Regions from separate parts of the Homo sapiens genome. Here regions 1, 2, 4, 5 and 6 are each linked to region 3. Evidence: promoter capture Hi-C in 16 types of primary human blood cells and fetal thymus (Javierre and others, 2016). All regions are on one chromosome and are shown on one strand. Each heading gives the region's core, a stretch centred on a gene start or on the middle of the fragment in contact. The rest is flanking DNA. Distances are from core to core; before and after follow the strand shown. Region 1 overlaps LYPLAL1-AS1 (LYPLAL1 antisense RNA 1). Region 2 has its middle 25 kb from the start of ZC3H11B. Region 3 holds the start of RRP15 (ribosomal RNA processing 15 homolog). Region 4 has its middle 53 kb from the start of ZC3H11B. Region 5 has its middle 150 kb from the start of LYPLAL1-AS1. Region 6 overlaps LYPLAL1-AS1 (LYPLAL1 antisense RNA 1).

Region 1 (2,940 bases), core at 184-2,683, 1.2 Mb after region 3:
TGTCGAATGAATGCACTTGGTAAACATTGGCTCCACCCACAAGGTCGACCTTAAATCAATTATTCACACCTGGGCTCCTGAAATCACCTGCTGATTCTCAAAGGGGATGATTCATTAACAAGTAAGAGAAAGTTTCCGAGAAATGCCTCCAGTAGAATTTTAAAATGCAGTAAAAAGAAAAAAAAAAGTCACTGTAAAATACCACGTGGAAAAAGAAGTGGCTTTTTGTTCTTACATTTTACCGTTATCTAGAAAACTAATGAAGTGGCTTATTTTTGTCACTTAGTTCCAATTAAAATAGAGTATTGCTGTTTTCTAAATGACCACAAAACTACAAGTAAGAAAAGATTATTCAAGGTTTACATTCTGAAATAAATGGTTTGTGTGAAGTTGGGAACTAGCAGAATTATTAGAGTGAACAATGCTTTGAATCCTCAGATTTAGGTTGAAGATTTGACCTTTGAGAATCTATAGTTAAATGCTGTTTATTCTTGTGAATCCCATAAAAGGCCTGGAGCTTCAACGGATTAACTTAAGGCTTAAATGGTAAGCATCAACCTGAACATTCTGGGACAAGGCCTGACTCCTAACCACTGGAATGAGCAAGGAAGCAAAGAGCTCTCCTCTGAATTTCTTAGGTGCAAGAACAGCAGTTGGACTCCCCAAGCTAATGCATTTCTATGAAATTATTGTCTTCTTACTGAAGCTTCCTGGCCCAAGACTTATGCCTCTCTACCTGAAAAATGCCTTTTCCTTCAGCAATGCTGTGATTTTTTCAATTCTGAAGGCTGAATGATCAGCACCACTTCAGTTTAGTTAAGGATTCACTTGGCTAGCCCAGACTACCATGCGTTGACTGACAAGTACAGGTGCTGTCTAAAAGGAGATTAGAAGAGCATTGACTTGCGTTACAGGAGATCGGAGGGTTAGTGAGTCCTTTTTGCAATCAAGAAATAATCAGCCGTGTTCTTAGGAGATTTCACTCTGTTGTAACTGAATGTGATGCTGTACTGGAAAAAAAAAAATAAAGCAGAGCGCTGGGCCTGGGATAATGGTCCAGCTTGTCTGGACCCCATGTCCCCTCATCATGGGAGAAAGCATTTATTCCTTCTCTCTTTCACTCTTTGCTACAACAGATATCAAGTGAGCATGTACATGCAGCACACTCTGCGTGGCAGGCACTGGATATTCCTGAGTGAACAAAAGATGCACAGTCATTGATGTCATGGTGATCACAATCAAGTAGGGTGGAGCAGACAATAAACAAACACATAGATAAAACTGCAAATCCTTAAAGGTCTTATTGGATGCCAGAGATAAATACTTCCACTAAAAATGTCTTAGACAGTAAAGAGATTTAAAAACTAAGACATAGGGTGGTTCCAACAGTGGTCCAGCGACTCAGTCATGCCACTAAGGACCCAGAACTTTCTATCTTCTCAAGTTCCATCTTCAGCATGCTGAAACTTTCTACTTCAGTGGCTTTTTGAGATATTTTTCTAAAGACAGTTCCTTCTCCACAAGAAAATTAACAGCACCTGTTAGATAAAATTCAAAATTAAATTATTTACAGAAAGTTGTTATTAGCCTGCACTTAACTTGCATCTCTTTGATGGGCTTAGTGTACAATGTTATCTTCCTAATGTTAATAATAGTGAAAGATCAGGCTGGGTGCGGTGGCTCATGCCTGTAATCAATCCCAGTACTTTGGGAGGCCGAGGCAGGCGGATCACGAGGTCAGGAGTTTGAGACCAGCCTGGCCAACATAGTGAAACCCCGTCTGTACTAAAAATACAAAAAATAAGCTGGGTGTGGTGGTGCATGCCTGTAGTCCCAGCTACTCGGGAGGCTGAGGCAGGAGAATCACTTGAACCCGGGAGGTGGAGGTTGCAGTGAGCCGAGACCACACCATTACACTCCAGCCTGGGTGACATAGTGAGATTCCGTCCCAAAAATGATAATAATAATAATAATAATAGTGAAAGATCAGTGACACATCCCACATTCATTTAAAGCATTTGCAATGTCTGTTCTCATACAGTTTGTTCAAGTAATGCTGTCTACACAGTCTGCACCAGAATGCAAAATTTTGAAGAGAACTAGCCCCAATCCTTGTCTATACTCCTTTTCATTCTGCCCCAGTGCCATCTCCTATTACAAGAAGCTTCACACATAGACACAGGAACACACTAGCCCGTACACCCACACTCCAGTCACAGACTGTACAAGATCAGCCATAGTCACTGGTGTGCTTTGGGGTGCTCATACCTGTGTGCTGCCTGCTCTTAAAAGAAGACACCTGGGCAAGAGGCCCTCGCAGGCCCTGGAAGTAGGCTTTGGCCACTTGGACATAAAAGTCTGGGGTTCTAGCCTCCTAGAGGGATAGCCACTTTATGTCTTTAAAGAACTCTAGGTGCCTTTGTATTTGTGGGCCCCCTTTTCCATAAAATAAATCACAAGTTATGTCTTACGACTGTGTTGGTATAGAAATAAATATATTAATATGATGTCAGATATGTTTTCAACCTAAAAGTTCATTCTTTTTTTTCTGATTTTAAAAGAAATTTGAACATTTTTGTGGCCCCTAACAGTAATAGGGGCCCTTGGCACTCCACCTATTGTACCTAAAAGATAAATCTGCCTGCCCGGAGCTTAGTCTTGAAGGGGGAAGGAGTGTGTGCTCTAATTTGGCCTAGAGATTCCTTGCCCCATGGGAAGAGGCATAGCCAGAGCAGACCCTTAAGTCTGGACCCTTAAGTCACAGGGCTCAGATTTGGGGTTCCTCATCCACAAGGCTAAGTGTGTTACCATTTCATAATAAACATGTGCACTCAAGTGGGCAGTGAATTTTATTATTATGAAGAGCGTTGAGTTAATACTTGTTCTGCATTTGTATTAGTAAAGATCACATTCTGGTGGCTCTCCTCCATAAGAGAACAG
Region 2 (2,700 bases), core at 159-2,658, 1.3 Mb after region 3:
CAGGGTTCTAACAGAGGCCCCCAGCCCACCTTCTTTTCCTGCCCTGAATTCTGTCCTGTATCACAAAGGGTCTCCCATGCATGTCTATGGACTCAACAACCCACATATCTAAGCACCAAATATATCTTGCCTACCTAACTGTCTCCTCTTGCCCACTCATCACACTTAGGGGTACGTATACACCAGCAGCACAGTCCATCTTCAGCAAGACAAACATGGGGAGAATCTGAAAGATAAGTGTCTGGAGTGAGCAGTGAATGTCAAAAGTGAATAGATTCTGAAAGGACTTGTCCCTTTGACCCCATGGCCTACTCTTCCCAAGGGTGGGGCACAGCTGGAGGAAAGTCCAAGAAGGGTCCTCTAAAGATTGGAGTTCAGAAGGGGCCGAGTTTCTGGAGTCCAAGGATATACTGTCCACTCTTTGTCCAGCAAATGTTCTTCCAGCCTGTCTAAACACTTGAAAAGCTCATCACTAACTACATAAGGTGCTTCAGTATTTAGTAAGAGCTACAAACTCAGAAAAGCTAGAAGAGCCAGAAAGTAACATAAATGAGTGAAGGAGGCTGATGCAGGTCCTCCAAAGAAAGTTGGAGGGAATGTGGTGAGCTGGAAAGCACATGTGCTGTCCAAAGGAAACAGCCTGCAGGCTGGAGGAAGTCTGAGCTCAGTTTCACTGGATCTTCCAGTTTTTCAAAATAAATAAATAAATAAATAAAGTCAGAAATAAAAAATGTTCAATTTCTTGCCTTTTAAATGTTAGTAACTAATTCAAAATTTGTTTTAAACACTCTGTGAGACCAACAAGCCACATCTGTTAGCAGGCTTTAGCTCATGAGCTACCAGTTTGCAGCCTCAGAAGAAAAGATTTCTTCATTAGATTGTGTCGAAATCTGCTTCCTTGAGAATCCACACATATGGAGGAACCAAAAGTCACTATCCCTCTTCCACATATCTCAGTTTGAAAGTAGATCACATTTCCCCAAATATCTTTCGGAGACTACTTAGCCAACACACATTCAACTGCTGCTTCTACAGAATAGCTTCTGTATCTCAGTGTTGCAACCACCCACCTCCAGAAGCCCCCACCATCTGTTTTCCTGGGAGAGCAACAGAATGAGCAAAATATTTCAAAGATGATTGCTTCTTCTTGCTAGTAATTATTTTTCTTAGTATTGCATGTCTGGGTCCAGAAAGGGAAATAATGACTCAATCATCAAGCTTCTTGTACAAGGCTGGCAATTTCAGGAAGTAGAAGGAAGACTAACACTGTGAACAGCATTCTTGATTAGCCAGAAGTATAAAATGAGGTGTGCATTTGATCCACTGTCAGAGTAGCAGATGGAACACAGCAACCATGACACGGTAGAGGTAGGACTTAATGGATCATCCTGAAGTGCCTGGGACTGATTAGCCGTGGTGCAGCTACATGCAGTTTTTAATTGATTGATTTGAGTTTGTGGTCAGAAAATGGCTGTCGGCTCCAGCTTATCTATAATTATCAGTAATCAGAACCAGACCTCTCTCTCTCTTTAATAGGCCAGGGCTCCTCCAGCATGCTTGACTTTTCTACTTTTCAAGACTTTCTGTAACCACTGCCTGAAAGCTTTCACGGCCATAACATGATACCTGGTGCCCATTGGGAAAAAGACTCTGGGGGCATGAACATAAAGGTAACAAGAACACTGCTCTTTCATTAGCTTAATACTTTGCCTATTTTGAGTTCAAGACAGTTTAAAATTAAGAGGAGGCCTCTTACAGTTTAGCCAGTCTATTATAGGCAAAACCAAGTGAAAGATTGAAATAAGAATTCCTGTAACTCTAGCCCAAAGCTCATTTTTAACCTAAAAAATGATCTCGACACTAATTAGAGGCTGGAACTATTTCTAGGAGTCAGAGTGTCCCTACCCTGGGTAAAGCACCATTAACATTTCAACAGGCCACCCAAATCAGAAAACTAGGAAGTATTTTAGACCCCTTCTCCTCCTCACAGTCCCCTGTCCCTGACACATCCAATCACTAAGGCATCTGATTCTACCTTTTGAATCTGAGTGACTTTAGAACAAGTGTCCTGGAGTCAAAGAGACTCCAGGTTCAAATTTGAACCTCCAAGAGAAGTTCAAATCCTCCTGCCATCACTTATGAATTGTGAGACCTTAAGCAAGTCATTCTCCCTCCTATGCCTCATTTCTCTCAACTCCATTGCAGAGTTACTATACCTACCTTAAGGGAGATTAAATAATGATGAAATGAGACAATGTATGTATCAAATGCAGCGTTTGTTGTATATGTGCTTAAAACTTTATTTAAAATATTATTATTGATTTGCTGTCTCTATCCTCACCAGTACAACCTAAATCCAGGACAAAAAGTATCACAGCTAGATGAAGAAGGATGAGGAGGATGAAAAAGGGAGAGGAGGAGGGGAGAAGAGGGAGAAAGGAGAATGATGAGGAAGAGTAAGGGAGGAGTAGGAGGAGAAGTTTATGATGGTGGCGACAGCTACCTTCATTGCCTCTAAATGTGAATTCCCCTTGCTGCCACCTTGTTACCAGGGCCAGCTCCCTGGGGGTGTACCTGTGCCAATGGTGCTGCCACTAACTGAAGTTATAGGGGCATGTCTGCCGAAAGCTCTTCCACCACCTGCTAATGCAGACTGACAATCCACTGTGCTAAAATATCTTTTACTTCTGATCTCTTAAA
Region 3 (2,700 bases), core at 25-2,524:
TTTTAGTAGAGATGGGGTTTCACCATGTTGGCCAGGCTGTTCTCAAACTCCTGGACTCAAGCGATCCACTTATCTCAGCCTCCCAAAGTGCTGGGATTACAGGTGTGAGCCACCGCACCCGGCTAGACCCTCTCTCTCTTAAAAGACAAAAAAATTAAAAACCAAGTTTAAAAATGTTGTATTGAGTTTTTAGGATGTGAATATATATTTATTTCCTACATAAACATCTACTGGAATATGTCAAAATGAGGATTCTTGTTTTTGTTTTTGACTTATGGGTATCACAATCTATGAACCTCCTTAAGAGGGGAAAGGGAAAACGCTAAGTTTGGGGAAAGCCTTTAGAACAAGTCTAGCCAGTAAAGGTTTGCTGCATTATCCATCTGAGTCATTAACTTTGTCAATAGTTATATTCTGTCACTCATTCATTGATTCATTCATCCCTTCCAAAAATATTTTTGGAAAATTCACTTCAGGCCAACTTCTGTTGCTAACCTTGAGGGGACATGGTAAATGAAATACGTTCCCCTCCTGCGAGAAGCCAACATTTTAGGGGGGAAAATGAAGGCCGACTGTGGTAGGTGCTTCGATGGAACTAGGAGCTGGTGACAGAGGCTAACTTCAGAGAAAAGCTAGCCCCGGGTGGGAGGCAGGATCCTCGCGCGGATAGCAAGGTATTCGCACCCTCGGTCTGCACTGCGCAGTCGGGCGCCAGAAACCCTCCAGGCCCCAGCCGGGTCCGAGGGAGAAGGGTGCGGTTGGATTCAACACCCGCCCCAGGGAAAGAAGGTGAGTCTATTCGGTTTGCAAGAAAGGTCTCGCGTGTTATCTTGGGCGGGGGGATGATACGATCGTATTCTAATTATCGGCCCCCAGTGGATCTGTCCCGCGTCCTAGCTGCTGCGGCGTTCAGTGGGCACGTAAGAGACACCTGAGGAGGACACTAAACCAACATTAAGGCAGCAGACAAGGGAAGCCGCCGAGGCTAGGAAATCAAAGTGGACCGCGCTGGGCTGGGGACGGGCTGGGGACGCACTGGGGCGGAGGACCAGGGCACAGGCGAGCTAGCGGAGGAGTCGGCTGAGGCCATTCAGCCGCTGATTTTCGTCCTGGAACGGACTTCGCGTAAACACACCGAGCCATTCAGAGCTCTCTCCAAGTCACATTCTGAGGCTCCGGCCCCGGAACTCTGGGCTAGACGACCCCGCCCCGGAACCTTGTGTTACCGGCACTAAATGCAGAAGTTCCTCTGGTTGCCACCGGACGCAACTGTCAGGTGACGCTTCCGGCGCAGAAAAATGGCAGCCGCCGCTCCGGACTCACGTGTGAGTGAGGAAGAAAACCTGAAAAAGACCCCAAAGAAGAAGATGAAAATGGTAACTGGAGCCGTAGCGTCGGTGCTGGAAGACGAGGCCACAGACACTTCTGATAGTGAAGGTAATGTGGTAGGGCTGAGCTTTGGTGTCTGGGAGGAAAGGCGGGGCTGAGTTCGTGTCAAGCAGCGCTTGCGACTTCATTTGCTGCTAGCCACCTGGGTTTTATCTTGGCACCACTTCAGAGGGGCGACTTTGGCTTAGTGAGGAGGCTTGGGGAAGTCGTGTTCAGAGAAGTAACGCTGTCAACTGTAATTTTGAGTTTCCACATTCTTTTACTAGGTATTTTCAGGGTCACCATTATTAATTATAATAAAATGGGTGAAACACCTGCAGCTACCGAGAAACTTACAGTAGCAAAGGGTGAAAGGAAGAGGGTACTTGAAAACAGGAGAAGAATGGGTCTCATAGGGTGTAAGAAGCAAAAGGTTAAAAGAGGTAAGAGGAAGAAGGGGGTGTACTTGACTTTTTGTGCGGTAGATGTGTGCGTGTTTTAGAGACTAAATAATAGTGAATGAAAGAAGAGTTTGGTGGTTAAGGTCGATTAAAAACTGGTAGTGTTTGATAACTATGTCTCTCAGAGACGCTTGATAATAAAAGGAAGGAAGGATGTGTTTTTGAGGCTTTCAACCATGCTGTGTCTGTTGCTCCTCTTTACCATCATTCTTGGCACCAGCTTATTAGGTTACAAGGAATTGCAGGTAATCCCTGACTTCCTACTGCCCAGTTATTGCTCCTTTGTACCAGCTGATACCCAAAAAACAGACAGAGCTATTCTTTTATAACGTATTTCTAATTATGCCCGCTGTCTGTTTGAGATGATCCAGTGGCTTCTCATCTCAGTATATAATATCCAAAATCCTTAGGCTGTATGATTTGGGCCAGGTTGTCTGTCATAGGCCAATATGCCCCTCACAAACCACTAACTGTAATCATGCCATACCGGTATGCTTGTGTTTAACACCTTAAACATGCTCCCACACCATGGTTTCTTCATTTGTTGGCTCCGCTGCCTAGAATAGTTTTCAAATGCTTGGCATGTCTCTCCCTCACCAGCCTCTGATCCAGTGCCTTACCAGAGAGACTTGTCCCTGACTACCCTATGTAACGTACCACCACTACTCTTCTTCCTGCCTTCTTTTCTTCACTTTTTGACTTATTGCCCTGCTTTATTTTTTCTCAACCCTGCCCAAACCATTTGATGTATGTATTTGCTGCTTTCCCAATTGGAATATAAGTTCCATAAAAATAGAGCCTACTGTATCCCCAGTTCCTATTGCCTTGTGGGTCCTTCACAGATATTTAAGTAAATGAATGAATTAACCTG
Region 4 (2,960 bases), core at 235-2,734, 1.4 Mb after region 3:
CACCTGTTTCATCAAGGTAGGGTATTGTCAGGTGTGTCCAAGTGCATTAGAAATGTCACCGATGTTACCAGCTGCTTCCTAAGAAGAAAAAAGACCTAGAACCCGAATTATGAACAAACAGAGTCTTATTTACATAACTGATATCAGAACTCACATGTTGTGTCCACACTTAGTCTAAGTCCAAATAAAACTGAGAAAGCACATAAACTATTCAGCCAGATATTTAGCATTTTATATATTTATAAGTATATATCTATATCTATATCTATATATCCATATCTATGGATAACTATGTAGACATTTTTCTATTTTTTAATCCAGATGTTCTGATGCTATATTTACATACGTATATACATAAATAGTCATAGTCATCAGATTTCTAATCTGTTGCTTCAACTCCCACATCTTCCAAGTTTTTGACTCAGCTAGGATCACAGGTACCCACTTCTGGATGCACACACCTCACACACAATGCTGACCCTGATGGGATTTTTAGATGAGTTTCAGGGGGTCTCAGGGAATCTCATTAAAAAAAAAACTGTCAGACCCCAGAAATTAACTATTTTCTTGTTTCCAGACTTGCTGAGGAAATATTTTTCTCTTTTTTAGAGAAAATGTATACACCATACCCTACAAGAGCATGTGTCATCTAAACTGTATAAGGGATCATTTGCTGTTGGTGACTTTGAAGTTCTGAATAAATACTCAGAACAAATATCATATTGAAAGTCAAGCCATTGACAGACATGGACACAGCCGCACATTGCCCAGCACTGCTTTGCTGCAGAGAGTTTGCTTTATAAGCTCACGACGCCAGGATAGTCCAGCATTTTGGTCACGTGGGGCTAAGACCAAATTATCAGACTGAAAAAGAAGCAGCCTTGCTTGTGCAGAGAAGGAGAGTCATCAGCATCCTGATTACTTTTAGTGATACAACATATATCTCCCTTTCTTTTCTCCAAGAGTCGTTATGAAAATGGTGATGAAGGTTGCAGCCACTGTCAGCTCCTCCAGGACCGACAACAAAAAGTAGACACCTCACTACTGAAAGTAAGATTTTATATGATTTCTGCTTCCTTTTGTGATTTGCCTCCATATTCTCCTGCCAAAGAATGCAACAGCTTCATAAACAGTGACATGAGGACAGAGCTTGGCTTTCCAATCTAAGTTAGAAGTGGTTTGGTTTGGACCTGCTAAGGGGAAGCATTCTGTATTCAGTCTGATTGGTTCACTCAACCCTCCTTCTAAAGAAAAAGAAGTCTTACCCCCCAACTTTCAGAACCACAAAACACGAAACCATTCATCTCTCACTTTAGAACTTTGCTTGAACCACTCAACACCCCTAACTGAGGCATGCGTCTCTCCATTCAGGGAAGCCCGTTTCTCAGAGCCAAGCACATTTCTATAAATGCTTCATGTGGGAAGGAACAAAACCAATAAGTCAGAAAGCTGACTCAGAAATGATTGGAAGTGTTTCCTTTCTTCCCCCAGCAGATTTGTTGCTCCATGGTGATTTTCCGGTGTGATCATTATGCAAGGCTTGGCTGACTGTCAGTAAAGGACAGAGTATTTGGCTATCACTATTATGACTTTTACATTTGGGGCAATTGCTTTCAATGAATACAAATGTGCCAGTGAGCAGGACTAAAGTACACAAGTTATGCTCCACAGCAAGCTCTGATGAGCCAACACCTCAGATTTTTGGGAACCTATGGCCTGGCCTCGTTTATCTTTCTCAAAAATGGAAGCCACTGCAGGGGCCATAGCATTGGAAGCCTGGGACCCACCACTCAACTGGAGTCTGGACAACAGGCCATGGACCTCAGGACTCTTGGGCCCTCGGTGTTGTGTCAATCAATCAGCAAACACTTATTGATCACTTTGCCAGGTCCAAATGGCATCAAGTTTTTCACTTGAAAGGGCGGTCACTAGTAACAAATTTTGCATTGTAAAGATAGTGCTGCCTACAAGACACATGCAAATGAATTACTCTTTTTCAGTCCTGACAACGGCTCCACTAGGTAGCCGCTACTCTTGTCCTTACTGCACAGATGAGAAAACTCAACCTCGGAGGAGTTCAGTGCTATGCCCCAAATCACAAAGCCGGCAAATTCAGAATCACATTTAGGCCTGATCTCTTTCCACTACCCATCGGCTGGGAACATTAGCAAGGAACTTGGTCCTGGTGCTCTCCTTGAAAGAGTCCCATGTTCCCAAGAGTGGTACAAAGTTCCTTGAGAATCGAACAGCCAGGGCTACAGGAGGGAGAAGTCCCTGCAGCTCCCTGCATACCCAAAGGCCACCGGGCCTCCTTGCTGTGGTTCCTTCAGAATACACCATCAGGTAGATCATTCCTGAATTTTATGTGTCTAGCCCACGTCATCAGGAAAAAGGGAAGGTGCGACAAGACTCATGTTCATGACAGAGTGTTTAGACGCAGAAGCTCTGGAATCAGAGAGACCAGCTTGGAATGCTAGCTCTGCACTAATTTGGTGTGTGAGCTTCGGCACTTTTGGTCTTCTTGTTTTGTTGTTCTTTCTTTTCTTTCTTTCTTTCTTTCTTTCTTTCTTTCTTTCTTTCTTTCTTTCTTTCTTTCTTTCTTTCTTTCCTTCTCTCTCTCTCTCTATTTATTTTGAAAGAGGGTCTTCTTCTGTCACCCAGGCTGGAGTGCAGTGGTGCGATCTCGGCTCACTGCAACCTGTGCCTCCCAGGTTCAAGCGATTCTCCCACCTCAGCCTCTTGAGCTGGGGTTACAGGCATGCACTACCTCACCCAGACAATTTTTTTTTTTTTTTTTTTGGTGGAGACAGGGTTTCACCATGTTGGCTAGGCTGGTCTCCAACCTCAAGTGATCCACCTGCCTCGGCCTCCCAAAGTGCTGGGATTACAGGTGTGAGCCACAGTGCCCAACCTGTTTTGCTTTTTAATTACTTTCACTTCAGTTTCCTCATCCATTAAAC
Region 5 (2,898 bases), core at 23-2,522, 1.1 Mb after region 3:
TTAGAGTGACAGAATATAGAATAATAATGTGCATAATAGTAAACTCCTCTGCAGTTTTGCAATGTGTTGAGCCCAAATAATATAAATATAGGGCCCTATGAAAACACACAAAAAAAGGGACACCAAAGCCCAGGCTGGAAATCAAAGAGATGTTGGTTCATGGGTTCAAAAATACAGTTAGATAGAAGGAATAAGTAAGTCCTAGTGTACAGTAGCACACTAGGGTGGCTACACTTAACAATAATTTGTTGTATATTTCAAAATAGCTGGAAGGGAAGATTTGAAATGTCCTCAACACAAAGACATGATAAGGGTTTGAGGTGATGGATATCCCAATTACCATGATTTGCTCATTACACATTTTTCACCTCAACTCCACTGAGTCATCTTTGACACCACGTCCTTTTTACAATTTCATCCAGGACAGTGCTTTATAAATTGTTTATGAAAAGCAACTCCCCATCCATTGGTAAGTTTTTGAACATCAAACTGGAAAAAAATGCATAGATAGTAACTTTCACCTTTTATTAATCTGTTAATCATCATCTATTTAATCAATAAACATTTTCTAAGCACCTAGCTGTATAAGGTACTTTCCAGATACCTGTGGGGGAGGAAAAGAGGATTTGCATGCCATAGTTAAGTGTCATTGTACACATTTTCATCATAACAGTTAAAGGTAAATTCTCTTTCCCTCTTCTGCATTAACAGCATAAGTCTGCATGGAGCTCATATTGACTATTTTCTTGTGAACTAGATAAGCTTCAGCTTGGTTGAGTAGATAACACCACCAAATAAATTCCCTTGGGGATTAAAATGTGTGTGGTGTCAGTGACCTAGCATAAACACAGGCAAATAATATCTGCAGACAAATGGTAAATTTGTATATTTGTTCTCTGAGGCATACTCTTTGAAAATTTCAAGAATAATCTATCTTAGGAATAGATGTTTCCCTTGAAAGAAAAATGGTACATCTCTGGCAAGTAATCAGAGGATACATGAGCATATTATACACACACACGTATATATCTACCACTTTTCATTTCTGAAACAGAAGAATTCTCAAAGGACCATCTTCTGAAACACTAAAATTCTCAAAAAGTTTCCCAGAACAGCGCATTACTATAACTTGACACCATGTTTTAGATATTACCCAATAAATGTTTGCAAGGTAGCAATAAACCTTTTTTCTAATAGCAGGCTTCATGCTGTGCTACCAGAGCGCAGAGGAAATGACTGAGCAGAAAGCTCATATACAGTATGCAAAGGCAGCATCAAAGACCTTCCAAGGCCAGTTCATTACAGTACCTCTGAGGAGGGTCAGAGCCTGCCCTGATTGCTTCCTCATTAGAGGTCACTTGCTTCAGTCCTGTCTAATAACCCCTAAATATGGAAGCACTCAGCAAGGCCACACTTGAGGTAGTCAGAGGTGTTTGGTATACTGGGTTGAGCAGCTGAAAGTTGGAATGCCTTGCAAGTCTACTTATAATAAAAGTGTCCCTTCCACCTATTTTTCTTGACAGTCCTACAGCTGCTGACATTAGCCAGCTCTGCATGTCCCCAGCTTCAAGTGCCAACTGCAACCCAATACGCTTGAGATTTGAGAATCCCATTTTCTTAAAAGTTTATAGAAGCATTCAGGCAGAAGTCCGCCTTTTAAAAAAGGAAATAAGTTATTATTATGCAAACAATTTTCTCTGCATTGGGGCCAAGAGCTTTTCAAGTTAACTGATTTTAATTCGCTAAATTTAATGTGACAGTTTGCCTCTTATTCGGGAAAGGGAAGCTTTGAAACTGAGACTGAAATTGGAGCTATCATGCTCAATTTTATGCTTAGAAAAACATATCGCACAGGTTTGAAGCAAGTTTATCTCTGTGGTTCAGGTGTGTATCTACTGAAGTCAAAGAACCTCACTGCTTTCATTAACTTTGGGCAGACTGTGTGTCACTAATCTGGTTAATAAGATTAGGACCTAAACACACTTGCATGGCTTTATTTTCTACTAGGCTCTAGTTACATTTATAAACATTTACAGTTTCTTTTTACTTAGAGATTGTACTCTTCAAAAATTGAGCTGAAACGAACATTCTGATATTTTTCTTAGATTCACAAGATGTGAAGAAGAAGGAAATACAATAAAAAACAATTTGTGTTTGTTTGTTTATCATGAAACCCTATGCTGAACCCAGATTTTGTAACCCATGCTTTTAGGGATTATGTCTTATTTGTACCTTGAAATTGGTACAATGTCAAGAACATAGCAGTTGTATAAATCTATATCATAAATAGAAAAAAAAACCCTGCATTTACTATTATGTGTCATTCCCTGACTTATGTGTTCTTCCTTTAAGTGAAATTCACCTTACAAGGTAAATTAGTGGGGAGTGTGTTCAGCTGCAAGTGGTATAAAATGAGAAGGATCTTAACTCAAAGAGTACCTCAAATATAACTGAATCTGGAGGCAGACAACTGTGAGCATGAATTCAAAGGCATGATGGTTGACATCTCTGCAATTGTTTTGATCTTTCCTTAATGATGTTGTTTCACATTGCAAAATGGCGACTAGGCAGCTGAAAGGGAAAAGGAAGGCAACCAGTATGTCTGTTCCCTTTCATCAGCAAATCAAAACTTTTTCCAGAAATGCTTAGCAGATTTCTTCTCTTGTCTTCTCAGCCAGAACTGTGTTACCCAGTATCTCTGGCTAGAGGGAGGCTAGGAAAACAAAAAAAATGATTAGATCCTTATGATGGTTCAAAGAAATGGTGATGCTTTGTTTGGATTTGGACACATTTCTCTCCAAACAAATTTGGGGTTCTGTTTGCAAGGAAAAATCAGGTTAGAAAATGACTATTGAGTTAGCACCTAATATTGTTTACTATAGGAAGTTAAAATAAAAT
Region 6 (2,700 bases), core at 52-2,551, 1.2 Mb after region 3:
TTATAATCTGCCCTTCTCCATTCAGTTAAAGAAACTCAGAGCTAAAAAGGGTTCTGAGAATTTTCTAAAATCATTCAACTAGTGAGGAACCAGCCTGGCCTTCTACTACAAAAGGCAGTGATGCTTTCACCACCTCTTCCTACTTCTTGGTTCACTGATGATGGTTCTATGCTATTAAGATGGAAACTATTTATTGGGTACATTATGGGTCCAACAGGCTTTAGTGAACTGGGCTGACCTGGGGAAGTAACCATCAAACATGACTTTGTTTCATCGGAAAAATTTGTTCTGGGTTCTAAACAGCTGATTTACATACAATATTTTAGTACACAGCTCATTTTAAATTGAGGACTGCCTGTACTAAGCTTCTAACTTCTAAGGATAGAAAGATAGTCCCTTTTATTTTTCCTGTTCTGCTTTTGGAAACTACCAACAAGGGTGCCAATTAGCACCAGATGGGACAGGGACTGTGTGATGTGGAACTCCGACCACTGGGAACTGGAACAAGTCCACTAATGTATTAAGCAATCGAAGAGCCAGAAGTTGGGCAGGCTTCAAATTTGGCACAATGTAAAGTTCGGATCTGTAAAGGCCCAGCTTTATACACAGAATCTGTCCCTTCTCGACTCACTGCCTATGAAGACTAGCAAGGGGAATGGGAATTTAGAACTCTAATACCTTCAAGCCTGTAGACTTTTATTTGCATGTTGCCTTTCACTCTGTATCTTTTCTCCATTTTGAACTTGAGTAAATCTTTATGGAATAATTAAGAGGAGGTGTAAATGCTTGTTTATCTTGGAAACCTGGATTTTAAGTCTATAATTCTTACTTAGCTGCCTTTACTTTCTGGATATCTTGATTTTTTAAATAATAACTCTGCATACGTCCAAAGTCAAAATTAAGAGTAGAAATGAAACATCAGGTTAACTCAAACTCAAAGGTAATTGAGATTTAAATGGTATGTTTACTAAAAACATAGATAAGTGAAGCAACATGGGAATTTCTATCGATATTATTCAGATAAATGTCTATTTTCTTCTCCTCGTTTAGCCAGCCACGTGCCTTCAATGCAAGTTTAGCTTGCTGAGTTTTGTCACTTACCACTCATGCTGTACTACATTAGCTTTCCCAGGCAGTGATCTAAATCACCTTGAAGACTGTTGAACACAAGATAAATTGAACGCAATCTTGCCTCAGCTTCATACAGCCTGTATTTAATAGAAATGAAGTTAGGTTTTGCCTATAAAATGAGTGTCTTAGATCTGAGCACTACTTTCCAAATTTTTTTCTTATTATGGCACATATGGAAAATGATATTATTTAGTAGTGCTCACTGGTCTAAAGAGATAGATAAGGTAGCTCATGGCTAGGGAAAAGTGACTGAGGGCTCGAGGTACCCCAGATTCTGCCCAGCCAAAATAGGGCTGGGGGATCAATACCTTGACACACCTGGATTAGTAGCACAATGTGTTCACATCTACCACTGGGAACACCAGATTGGAAGCTCTGTAGTAAAAGATATTTAAGGACTATTTGGAGATTCTATGACTTCTTTATAGTATAATTTACTGGGACTTGACCACCGATGTGTGATTTGGGTATTATGGTTCAAAACTTTCTAAATCATAAACTGATCCCAGAATGTTTGATGCTTGGTTAACAGCATGGAAAGGCCCCTAATGCTGGGATGACCAACTGTCCCAATTTGACCAAGAATGAGGGGTTTCCCATGACGTGAGACTGTCAGTGCTAAAAGCAGGGCAGTCCTGTATAAACCAGGGCAGTTATCTCCTACCTACACTGTATTAAAATCCTTTATTAAGGAAACAAAGAAAAGAGAATCCAGGGTTTCTGCTTTCAGGGCTTGGTGTTTGTTGTAGTCTTTCTTCCCCGGCCATTGGAACCAGAGGCAGCACCCCTGTGAACTGGTCATAGAGTCCAGGTCATCTATGGTTTAAAAAGCAGAAGGCTATGATTTTTCTTATAAAATGTTTTCCTTTGTAGAGTTGTTTTTGCCAGTTCCAAGAGGAAATAGTGGGCTGAAATCAAGAGGCATGACTGGATGACTAGTACTAAGCAAATGATTCGTGCAAAGATTTCACTGGAAACATTCAGACTCATAACAATAGTAGTTCTGACATGACTACCTCTTGCCTGAGAAACTCATAAACATGGCCTCTAGGCTATACTTTTTTTTTCAGCAGCTGCTGGTTCTTTAATTTAATTATAAGTTACAAGTAAGCTTCTTAAAGAGGCCATGTGTGTACCAAACAGTGTTCAGAGGACACTCCGTTCACAAATTTTATGACAGTCAGCACTGTTGGAATTACATGTTCTAATATGAGATGGGTGGACTGGTGTGGGAGAAATAAGAGCCACCATTCTCCTCCTCCCCCACCCAGACTTAAACCAAAATTGTTTTTGAGGTTCAAAAATATTCACATGACAGCTTTCTATGTTTGGCTGGGGCAGACTAAACTGCAATGCCAAGAAAATGGTTCCTTCTAGCTTTAATTCTAATACAGATGTCACAGGACCTGAGAGGTGCTTCAGTGCTGGGTCCTCGCTCTCACGCAGAGCTCCTGTTTCATTATGAACATTTATTATGCACTTACTTTTGTGCACAGAACTAGGCTTTGCGCTGAATGAGAAATGCGTAAGGTAACAATCTTTGCCCTCAATGTACACACCATGTCTTGA

The links. The method cuts DNA at HindIII sites, captures the fragments that hold promoters and counts their contacts. A CHiCAGO score of 5 or more calls a contact.
Region 1: a contact is called between a fragment that was not itself captured here and the fragment with the promoter of RRP15 in region 3, in 1 of 17 cell types (total CD4 T cells). The highest score is 6.3, in total CD4 T cells.
Region 2: a fragment that was not itself captured here is called in contact with the fragment with the promoter of RRP15 in region 3 in 1 of 17 cell types (monocytes); the score reaches 7.2 in monocytes.
Region 4: a contact is called between a fragment that was not itself captured here and the fragment with the promoter of RRP15 in region 3, in 1 of 17 cell types (monocytes). The highest score is 5.9, in monocytes.
Region 5: a contact is called between a fragment that was not itself captured here and the fragment with the promoter of RRP15 in region 3, in 2 of 17 cell types (naive B cells and total B cells). The highest score is 6.5, in naive B cells.
Region 6: a contact is called between a fragment that was not itself captured here and the fragment with the promoter of RRP15 in region 3, in 2 of 17 cell types (total B cells and monocytes). The highest score is 6.9, in total B cells.

The regions. Positions count from the first base shown.
Region 1 is chr1:219,433,876-219,436,815 of GRCh38, forward strand. It overlaps LYPLAL1-AS1 (LYPLAL1 antisense RNA 1), which reads right to left. Exons shown (of 4, transcript NR_135822.1): 4 at 1,283-1,538. It also overlaps a transcript of LYPLAL1 not described here. Among named protein-coding and RNA genes, the nearest start is that of LYPLAL1-AS1, 120 kb to the right of the region's middle. The HindIII fragment of the contact is 1,458 bases long and covers 705-2,162 here.
Region 2 is chr1:219,586,987-219,589,686 of GRCh38, forward strand. No RefSeq gene overlaps it. Among named protein-coding and RNA genes, the nearest start is that of ZC3H11B, 25 kb to the right of the region's middle. The HindIII fragment of the contact is 385 bases long and covers 1,217-1,601 here.
Region 3 is chr1:218,284,019-218,286,718 of GRCh38, forward strand. RRP15 (ribosomal RNA processing 15 homolog) reads left to right here and starts at 1,275. Exons shown (of 5, transcript NM_016052.4): 1 at 1,275-1,437. The coding sequence starts at 1,299. RefSeq lists enhancers at 653-722, 1,253-1,532. The HindIII fragment of the contact is 12,027 bases long and covers 1-2,700 here.
Region 4 is chr1:219,664,922-219,667,881 of GRCh38, forward strand. No RefSeq gene overlaps it. Among named protein-coding and RNA genes, the nearest start is that of ZC3H11B, 53 kb to the left of the region's middle. The HindIII fragment of the contact is 3,636 bases long and covers 1-2,960 here.
Region 5 is chr1:219,404,494-219,407,391 of GRCh38, forward strand. It overlaps a transcript of LYPLAL1 not described here. Among named protein-coding and RNA genes, the nearest start is that of LYPLAL1-AS1, 150 kb to the right of the region's middle. The HindIII fragment of the contact is 1,024 bases long and covers 761-1,784 here.
Region 6 is chr1:219,463,336-219,466,035 of GRCh38, forward strand. The region is part of intron 2 of LYPLAL1-AS1 (LYPLAL1 antisense RNA 1); the gene reads right to left. Among named protein-coding and RNA genes, the nearest start is that of LYPLAL1-AS1, 93 kb to the right of the region's middle. The HindIII fragment of the contact is 1,877 bases long and covers 364-2,240 here.